Regions from separate parts of the Homo sapiens genome. Here all the other regions are linked to region 3. The links are contacts of gene promoters, found by promoter capture Hi-C in blood cells and fetal thymus (Javierre and others, 2016). All regions are on one chromosome and are shown on one strand. The core of a region is centred on a gene start or on the middle of the fragment in contact, and the rest is flanking DNA. Distances in the headings are between cores, read along the strand shown.

Region 1 (2,970 bases), core at 89-2,588, 300 kb before region 3:
CTGATTCTAAAGTTCATATGAAAATGTAATGGACCCAGAATAGCCAAAACAATCTTGAAGTATACAAAGTTTGAAGAGTCACATTTCCAAATTTTAAAACTTATTACAAAGCTACAATAAACAAGTCTATGTGGTACTGGCATAGGATATAAATATTGATCAATGAAATAGAATCCAAAGTCCAGACATAAGCCCTCACAAAAGTTAATTTGCAGCCAATTAACTTCTGAGAAGGAGGCAAGACAAAAGGGGAAATAACTATTTTCAATAAATGGTACTGGGACAACTTGGTATCTACATGCAAAAAAAAAACAAAAAAACAAAAAACTTCCACCCCTACCTCATGCAAAATACAAAAATTAACTCAAAATAGGCCAAAGACTCAAATATAAGGGTTACACTATAAAACTCTTGGGAGGAAATATAGAATAAATTTTTGTGACCTTGAATTAAGTATTAGATTTTTAATTCTTACACCAAAGCACAAGTTAATAAAGGAAAAAAAAGATAAACTGGACATAATTAAAATTGAAAAAAAATTTGCTTCAGTGAACACAGTCAAGAAATTTGAAAGACAGCCACAGTGCAAGATTATTTTTGCAAATAATATGTCTCATAAATGACTTGTATCTAAAATATATAAGACCAGGCATGGTGGCTCATCCTGTAATCCCAGCACTTTGGGAGGCTGAGGCAGGGGGATCACTTGAGGTCAGGAGTTTGACACCAGCCTGGCCAACATGATGAAACCCCATCTTTACTAAAAATACACACACAAAAAAAATTAGCAGGGTGTGGTGGTGTATGCCTGTAATCTTAGCTACTCAGGAGGCTGAGGTGGGAGGATAGCTTGAACCTGGGAGGCAGAGGTTGCAGTGAGCCAAAATTGCACCAATGCACACTCCAGCCTAAGCAACAGGGCAAGACGCCATCTCAAAAAATAAAACAAAATAATAAAATAAAATAAACAGTAATTACCGCTAAATAATAAAACAAACAATAAACCAATTTTATAACGAAAGGATCTGAATAGATTCTTCTGTAAAGAAGACATACAAATCACAAATTACACATGAGAAGATGCTCAACACTATTAGTCATCAGGGAAATGCAAATCAAAATCACAAAGAGACAGCAATTTATACCCAGTAGGATACTTATTATTATTATTATTTTAAATAGCAAAATAATAAATGTTAGAATGTGGGAAAACAGGAACATGCGGCATTGTTGCTGGTAATGATAAATGTGCAGCCACTGGGCAAACAATTTTGTGGTTCCTCTCTAAGTTAAAAATAATGGCTGGGCGTGGTGGCTCACACCTGTAATCCCAGCACTTTGGGAGGCTGAGGTGGATGGATCACCTGAGGTCAGGAATTCGAGACTAGCCTGACCAACATGGTGAAACCCCATCTCTACTAAAAAATATAAAAAATTAGCCCAGCTACTCAGGAGGCTGACGCAGGAGAATCCCTTGAACCTGGGAGGCAGAGGTTGCAGTGAGCCGAGATCCCACCACTGCACTCCAGCCTGGGCATGACAGAGCAAGACTCCATCTCAAAAAAAAGAAAAAAAAAAGAAATAACATGCTACCCAGCAATTTTACTCCTGATACATAGCCAAAATAACTAAAAAACAGGTGTTCAAACAAAAATTGTACAGGACGGTTTACAGCAGAAATATTTGTACTAGGAAAATGTGGAAACAACTCAAATGCCCATCAACTGGTGAATGGAAAACAAAATGTATATTCACACAATGGAATATTAATTTAGTCATATACAGGAAATAAGTATACATACTGCCAGAATAAACCTTGAAAGCATTATGCCAAAAAAAAAAAAAAGGAAAATAATTCTTGCCTGGTGGTCTGGGAAAAGCAAAAGCATTATGCTATGTGAAAAAAGCCAGTCACACAGTACCATATATTATATAATTTCATATAAATAAAATGTCCACATGAGGCAAGTCTATAGGTTCAGAAAAAATATTTGCTTAAGGATGGAGTTTCCCTTAAGTTATGATTGAGAATTGATGTCTAAGGACTGTGTGATTTTATTCAGGGTTAATGAAAATGCATAAGAATTGACTGTAGTGATATTTACACATATCTATGCTTATCTATAAATATCCAAAACCATTGAATTGTACACTTTAAATCACGGATTGTATTATATGTGCATATCTCAAGTTGTTTAAAACAATAGATGTCTGGCTAGCACCTCCCAAGGCAGCCTCTCCCAACTTTTATTTTATTTTTTTGAGACGGAGTTTCACTCTTGTTGCCCAGGCTGGAGTGCAATAGTGCAATCTTGGCTCACTGTAACCTCCACCTCCCAGGTTCAAGGAATTCTCCTGCCTCAGCCTCCCGAGTAGCTGGGATTACAGGCATGCACCACCACACCCAGCTAATTTTGTATTTTTGGTAGAGACAGGGTTTCTCCATGTTGAGGCTGGTCTCGAACTCCTGACCTCAGGTGATCCGCCCGCCCCTTGGCCTCCGAAAGTGCCGGGATTACAGGCGTGAACCACCATGCCTGGCCAGCCTCTCCCAACTTATTAAATTCCTATGCAGCAAGATGGCAAAATGGAATTCTTCAGCACTCATAACCTTGCAGAAGTATCCATTTGAACAACTATTCATGCGCAAAATTACCTTTACAAGGCCTAAAGAAACCAAGTGAGAGATTACAGCACCTGGGTGTAGCAAATAAAGAAAGATGCATTTAAGAGTGGAGAAAGGGCAGATCATTTGAGGTCAGGAGTTTGAGACCAGCCTGGCCAACATGATGAAACCCTGTTTCTACTAAAAATACAAAAATTAGCCGGATGTGGCAGCAGGCACTTGTAATCCCAGCTACTTGGGAGGCTGAGGCAGGAGATTCGCTTGAATCTGGGAGGCGGAGTTTGCAGTGAGACAAGATTGCGCCACGCACTCCAGCCTGAGCGACAGAGCAAGACTCCATTTCC
Region 2 (3,000 bases), core at 282-2,781, 330 kb before region 3:
CTGGTGTGTGGTGGCCTTCCCCAGCCAACCTGTGCCACCCTCCTCTCACCCTTGCCTGTGTGAAAGCAGAGTCAGACTTGAGTGAGGTGTTGAGTGTCCCCTGTGAGGAGACTCTGGCCTCAGGCCCTGTAGCTGCCTGTTGAGTGGGTGGCCCCAGTGGCCCATTCTGGTGACCTCCATTTATGATCCCAAGTTGGCAAACTCTACCTGCAGTTCCAGGCCTTGGGAAGTCTCCTAGTCTGGGGGCAAATCCTTGTATAAGACAGCCGAGTGGCCAGCGCCTCGTCCTGGAGCTGCAGCCCTATGATCCCAGTCCTCCTGTGGTTTCCCAGAGGCCATGATAATGTGTTCTTTGTCTTTTACTTTCTGCACCTGCGGGAGCCATGAAACCTAGAGAGGACCAAAGGAAGGGCAAAGGCTGGCTGCCTCCATAGCATTCCCGCAGGGTCTCCAGGCTACTGGTCCTTGGTGCTAGAGTCCCCTGAGTTTGGTTGTCAGCCTGGGACCAGGTGGCTTGTTCCTTTCTCTTCTCCTTATCTTTTTTATTTTTTTCTCCTTCCTCTTTATTCACATGGGAGAAGGCAGAGACCATCAGCTTAGAGAAGCAAGGTTATGGTTGTAGTTGGCATTTGTGGAGCCATACTGCCATCAAGTGGAAACTGTTTCTGGAAATGGGAGGGAGCTGGGCACAAGTGCTGGGGAAAGCCCAGGGGCACAAAACAGATGGTGGCATGGGGCCCCCAGACTGAAGCAGGATGAGAGAGGAGCTCCTCACTGGCCCTTGGCCTGGGCTCATTCCCAGGATGGTGCCCTGGCTCCACAGCTGCATGTAAGAAAGGGCAGTTGGGGCAGCCCACCATGGCTTCCCCTGGCAGTTTCCAGGAACTGCCGGGCATGAGTCGCCCCACACTCAGCACCCCGTAGCTCCTTTTTTTTTTTTTTTACCAGGAAGATAGGGGCCTTCTGGCCTTACTGTGGCCCCAGCCAAGGAGGGCAAGCTGTAACTGCCCACAGAAGAAACCAGAGTAAACCACTTCATTCTCTGGCTGTCAGTGGCCAGTGGCTTCCCTTATGCGTATCTCAAAATGGCTGGGGGGCAGCTTCACTGTGTGGACTGACTCGTCTTGGGGCTGCCTGGCTGCCCTGTGTCAGGGCCTCTAGAGTAACTGCTTCTCCAAGGGGTCCCAGTGGCAGGCACTCTTTGTTCTAGGGCTCTAAACCCCAGTTGGGGAAACCCTGGCTTAAGCAGAGTCCACCCAGCCCCGCACATTTTCACTGATCTCTGTGCCTGGCAGAAGGCGAGTGTCCCTGCAGCCTGTTGTCATGTTCAGAAACATCTTCCTCTGGGTGGCACTGTGGCTCCGCAAATGGCAGTCACGTCTTTTCCTTCCCCCACCTTGCCTTGTCTTTCTCCATTTGCTGCCAACGGAATAAAACAAATGCCAAAAACAAAAAGCAAAGAAACAACGAAGAAACTGGCCAAGGATCACCCACCTCACCTACAGCAGGGATCCCCACCTACGTGGTCACTTTGGGGGAACCTGCAACAGTAGGAGGTTCTTTGCCTCCCTCCTTCCCTCTGGATTCTTCTCTGGGCAGGGTACCCAGTGAACCAGAGGAGTCTGTTCTCATGAAATCCCACCCTTAGGGCTGTGTCATGGTGGGGGTAGGTTGTACTGGGGGCAGTATGATGGGGTACAGGAGAGGGATGTGTGAGTGTGTGGGCCTGCATGCAGGCCACTGCAGATTCCTCTAGGAATTGGCCCAGGTCCCCAAAGCAAGAGACCAGGCCTCATGATGGCATGCACCACACTTGTCCCTAGGTAGCACTCTTCCTCTTGGGGAAGGGACAAAATCTTGGATGGAAAGCAGCCAGGTCCAACAGGCATCCACACATTGTTGAGCCATGGAGCAGCAGGGAGTTGGGTCGGATGTTTGTTGAGATGGGACTGCATGGGACTGACTCCTGTTCGAGGCCTTCAGCTACCTCTCTCTCTGGAGCCCAGGCACTCATAGGGGTCCAGGGGTTGGAGGGATTTTCCAGGTTTTTTCACAGGTGGCTCTCCTGGAGAGAGAGCCACTTGTCATGTCTTACTGAGCGTGCATGCTCACTGGAACGTGGTGGTTCACCAGTTATTTGCCTTGGCATCTTGGTCATTCTTCCCATGTGCATGGGTAGCCAGAGCCCAGACAGTGCTTGCCTTCTCCTGGGCCCTATCTTTGTTCCTGTTCTGCGTGTCGAAATGGAGGTTGAGCCTGGAGTGTGTTGGTGGGGGGTGTGGTGGAGTGTCTGTGCCTTTGTTTGATACAGAGCTCTCTGAGGTCCTCAAGCTAAACTCTGGTGCTTGCCGGATATTCATCCAGAAAAATGAATGAGACAGTCGAGGACAAATTATGCTGCCCCTTTAGGGTCTCCAGGAAGACATAAGAAAGCCTCACTTGGGCCATCATACAGAGCCCATTTTGGGATGCGAAGCCATGACCGCGTTGCTCTAAAGGTTACATATGCTACCCATGCTGCTTGATGCCTGGGCAGCAGTATGGAACACACAGCTCTTCGAATATTGCAAATGTTTTCTTTCTTTGCTTGTTACAAATCTTCCTGGATGTGTAGACCACACTGTGAACAAGCAGAGCTTCATAGGACAGAAAATTCACCCCATGGGTATTGATTCCCACACTCAGGGGTGTGTGAACCACTCTCACATCACAAGAGCAGTGTCAATCTCGTGTGTGGGCCTCTACTCTCAGGGCATTCTGGGAAGAAGACCCACATGACTATGGAACAGGAGTCACCCCCTTTTGGTCACTTGTCAACAAATGCAGATTCTTTTCTCATAAGTAGGTAGCATGCACCACGGGGCACCTCCGGCCCTGCCTAGGTACAATGGGAGAAGAAAAGAATGCAGGAAGATCTGACTGCGTCTTTAGGAGTGACATGGCAACTCTGAGTTTCAGAGGTCCTCGTTTTTAACTTTTAACTCCCATTACGTCTCAACA
Region 3 (2,949 bases), core at 83-2,582:
CTCAAACATATGTTCCACTGCTTTGCCAATTATGGTATTTGCAAGGTTGGCATCACTAATGTGAGATGATGCCACCCTGTCAGAAAGAATTTTAAGAGACAAAACCCTTTCATCTCTGTGAAGTTCCAGTCCATAGACACAGTCAATTCCATCATATTTCACCAGATAAAGAGAGGGATTTATAGGCACCTGATCCAGAACGGTTCCTTTCCACTGCGTGATGGGCTCATCTCCTTCCTTCCATCCATGAGAAATTCTGCAGCCCACGATGTTCCTGCGGGGCTGGGATGAAGGTCGGCCTCTCTGCTTCTTTTGGGAGACTTTTTTCTTTGTCATGTTTGCAGACCCAGTGGCCCGTCCTGCAGCTGCCCTGGTTTGTTGCCCTTCGGCTTCCTGTGCGTTGGGGGTCTTCATGCCTGCTGGGGGAGGAGAGAGGATAGAGAGACACACCCAGTGTGCCACAAGGCAAACTTTTCCCTATAGCCATGTCTGGATGTAGTCTGCGCTAGTGCCTAAGTTTCCCCTAGGAGCCTGGAAGCAATGCTGGAAATCCTGGCTGCATGCCCGCAGTGCTCTCCCTCTTAAGTTCCTTTGGGCTGTGGGGAAGGGCTGGGGTGGTGCAGTAGAGCTGTCTGGGGTTAGGAACTCTGCAGAAGTGGCTGGGCCACCTCCTCCTAGCTCAGAGCCCACTGCCCTCCCGGAACCCCTTGCTACCACTGGCGTCCACTTCCAATCCCCTTGCAAAGAGGCCTTGACCGGCACCCACTGCCCTCCTTCCCTGAGCGTCCCAGCTGCTGTCCACAACACCCCCTGCCTACCCTAACCACTTCTCTGGTACCCACCGCCCTTGCTTCCCGGCGCTCACCTTCAAATCCTTGTCTGGCTCCCGTTCCTACCCCCTTTTCATGTTGCTCACCGCACTCCCCCACCCCACCCTTGCCTGGCGCCCAACTCCACCCCATGTCTCCTGCTGGATTCCTTCCCATCCCCCTCTCCATTCTGGCGCCCACTAATGGCCTTGCCCTGCCTGGCGTCCACCGCCGGGGATCGCGGGCCTCACGTGCCCAAATCGGACACCTCGCTGCTGCCTCCGCTACGAGCCTGTGGCGAAGGAGGGTCAGCAGGCGACCGGCCGAGTGAATGCTTGCAAGAGCGGGGAGGGTAGGATCCGTAGATGAGGAGCGTGTCTAGGAGGGCGGCGAGACAGGCAAAGAGGAAGGCAGCGGCGTCCCCACCGCTTGGCTCGCTAGCCCTCCGCCTCCCTGCTGGCGGTGGCGGCCCCTCAGCCACATCGGGATTCCACCAGTCCCTGCTGTCGCCGCGGCAGTCTCCTCCCTCTTTCCGTAGCGCAGCTTCCTGCCCAGAGAGAGGCCTCCTCTTCCTGTCAAACACCCGGCTCTCCTCTCCACCAGGCTCCCACGCCCACCACACAGCCTGTAGCCCCGGCGGAGCTATGGGCTCTGACTCCGCCTCTTTCCAAATCCGGAGTAGTTCGTGCCACAGTCGTCCTCGGAACCCTGTGGCCCCTTCCTCACCCGTTTCAGGGCCACTTGGTTCCCACCTCCACCTTCTTAGTCTGCCTGCCCTGCTTTCCATCTTCTTGGAATTCGCCTTGCTGCCGCCCCGCGCCCACCCCCGCGCCCACCCCTGCCCCTGCACCGTCCCATGCCCTTATGGATTTATTCTTTACACGTAAATATGTCTTTCCTCTTTTTGAAAGGATTTGGAGTTGGAACAGAGAAATTCACTATGGTAAGTCTGCCATTTTGACCCAGTCTCTACCTAATTTTTGCTGACTGATATTTCCTGGCATTTTTGTTTTTGTTTTCGAGGGATTTTTTTTTCCTTTTCTTTATTGCAAGATAATTGCATGTACAACGTGAACACTATCTACATTTTAGGAAATTAATATTAAGAGGAAAATCATCAACTGCAGTCCCATCTCCCATTTTTGAGGGCCTCACAGCAAAATATTAATGCTCATAGTTTTTTTTCCTTTTTCCTAAACTTTTGCAAAACTGGGATTTGTTTTTTATCTGCAATTCATGTCTATTAATTTTTCCAGGAAATTAGATGTTTTCTAATCGATTTTTTCATTCAACAAATATTTATTGAGCACCTGTTACATATCTTGCACTTGGTCCGTAAAACTCAATTTTAAAGTGATTTATAATTTGGCTTTTCTCCCAGTACTGGGCATTTGACATAATATTTCCACAATAACCAGTAATCAGATCTATGTATCGGAATAGAAAGCTTTGCAAAAAAATAACTTTATAAGAAATAATTAAAGTTATAGTTTTATAAATCAGTGGAGAAACGTTGGGTATTCTTTAAGGAATGTTGAAATAATTATTTAAATATTTTGAGAAAGGTTGTATACTAATGTTGTACCAGTATCAATATTTGATTTATTAAAAGGTAAAAAGCAGCAAAATAAAATTGAACAGAAAGCAAATGAACCAACCAAAAACTCTGTAAACAAAACAATGCTTAATGGTATCTTTCTTATTCAGATACTTATGGTATTTGAATGAGGGGATGAGTCGGATGTTAACAGAACAACTACACTTAATAAAATAACATCTACAAGGAAAAATAGAAGTAATAATAATCTCGATTCAACAGTCAAAGTATGAAAGAACATTAAAATATTACTTAATGTCATTGATCATGAAAAAGCTTCATATCTAGTGCTGATGCAAGTGAAAGTTTATACAATTTTTATGGAAAGCAATTTGCAGATATGTCATAGTTTCAGTGAGGGCTTTTTATTTTATTTTCATTTTTATTTTTTTAAATTATATTTTAAGTTCTAGGGTACATGTGCACAATGTGCAGGTTAGTTACATGTGTATACGTGTGCCATGTTGGTGTGCTGCACCCATTAACTCCTCATTTACATTAGGTATATCTCCTAATGCTATCCCTCTCCCCTACCCCCACCTC

Evidence for each region. Contacts are between HindIII fragments. The CHiCAGO score rates a contact against its expected background, and 5 or more counts as called.
Region 1: a fragment that was not itself captured here is called in contact with the fragment with the promoter of SPIN2B in region 3 in 2 of 17 cell types (total CD8 T cells and non-activated CD4 T cells); the score reaches 5.6 in total CD8 T cells.
Region 2: a contact is called between a fragment that was not itself captured here and the fragment with the promoter of SPIN2B in region 3, in 5 of 17 cell types (M0 macrophages, fetal thymus, non-activated CD4 T cells and 2 more). The highest score is 9.4, in M0 macrophages.

The regions. Positions count from the first base shown.
Region 1 is chrX:56,818,684-56,821,653 of GRCh38, forward strand. NBDY (negative regulator of P-body association) reads left to right here. Exons shown (of 3, transcript NM_001348129.2): 3 at 1-496. Among named protein-coding and RNA genes, the nearest start is that of NBDY, 91 kb to the left of the region's middle. RefSeq lists a silencer at 1,473-1,767. The HindIII fragment of the contact is 3,504 bases long and covers 1-2,970 here.
Region 2 is chrX:56,787,688-56,790,687 of GRCh38, forward strand. All of the region lies in intron 2 of NBDY (negative regulator of P-body association), which reads left to right. Among named protein-coding and RNA genes, the nearest start is that of NBDY, 60 kb to the left of the region's middle. The HindIII fragment of the contact is 4,764 bases long and covers 1-3,000 here.
Region 3 is chrX:57,120,216-57,123,164 of GRCh38, forward strand. It overlaps SPIN2B (spindlin family member 2B), which reads right to left and starts at 1,333. Exons shown (of 2, transcript NM_001006681.2): 1 at 1,023-1,333; 2 at 1-416. The coding sequence starts at 414. It also overlaps a transcript of FAAH2 not described here. RefSeq lists a silencer at 1,501-1,620. The HindIII fragment of the contact is 2,706 bases long and covers 1-2,254 here.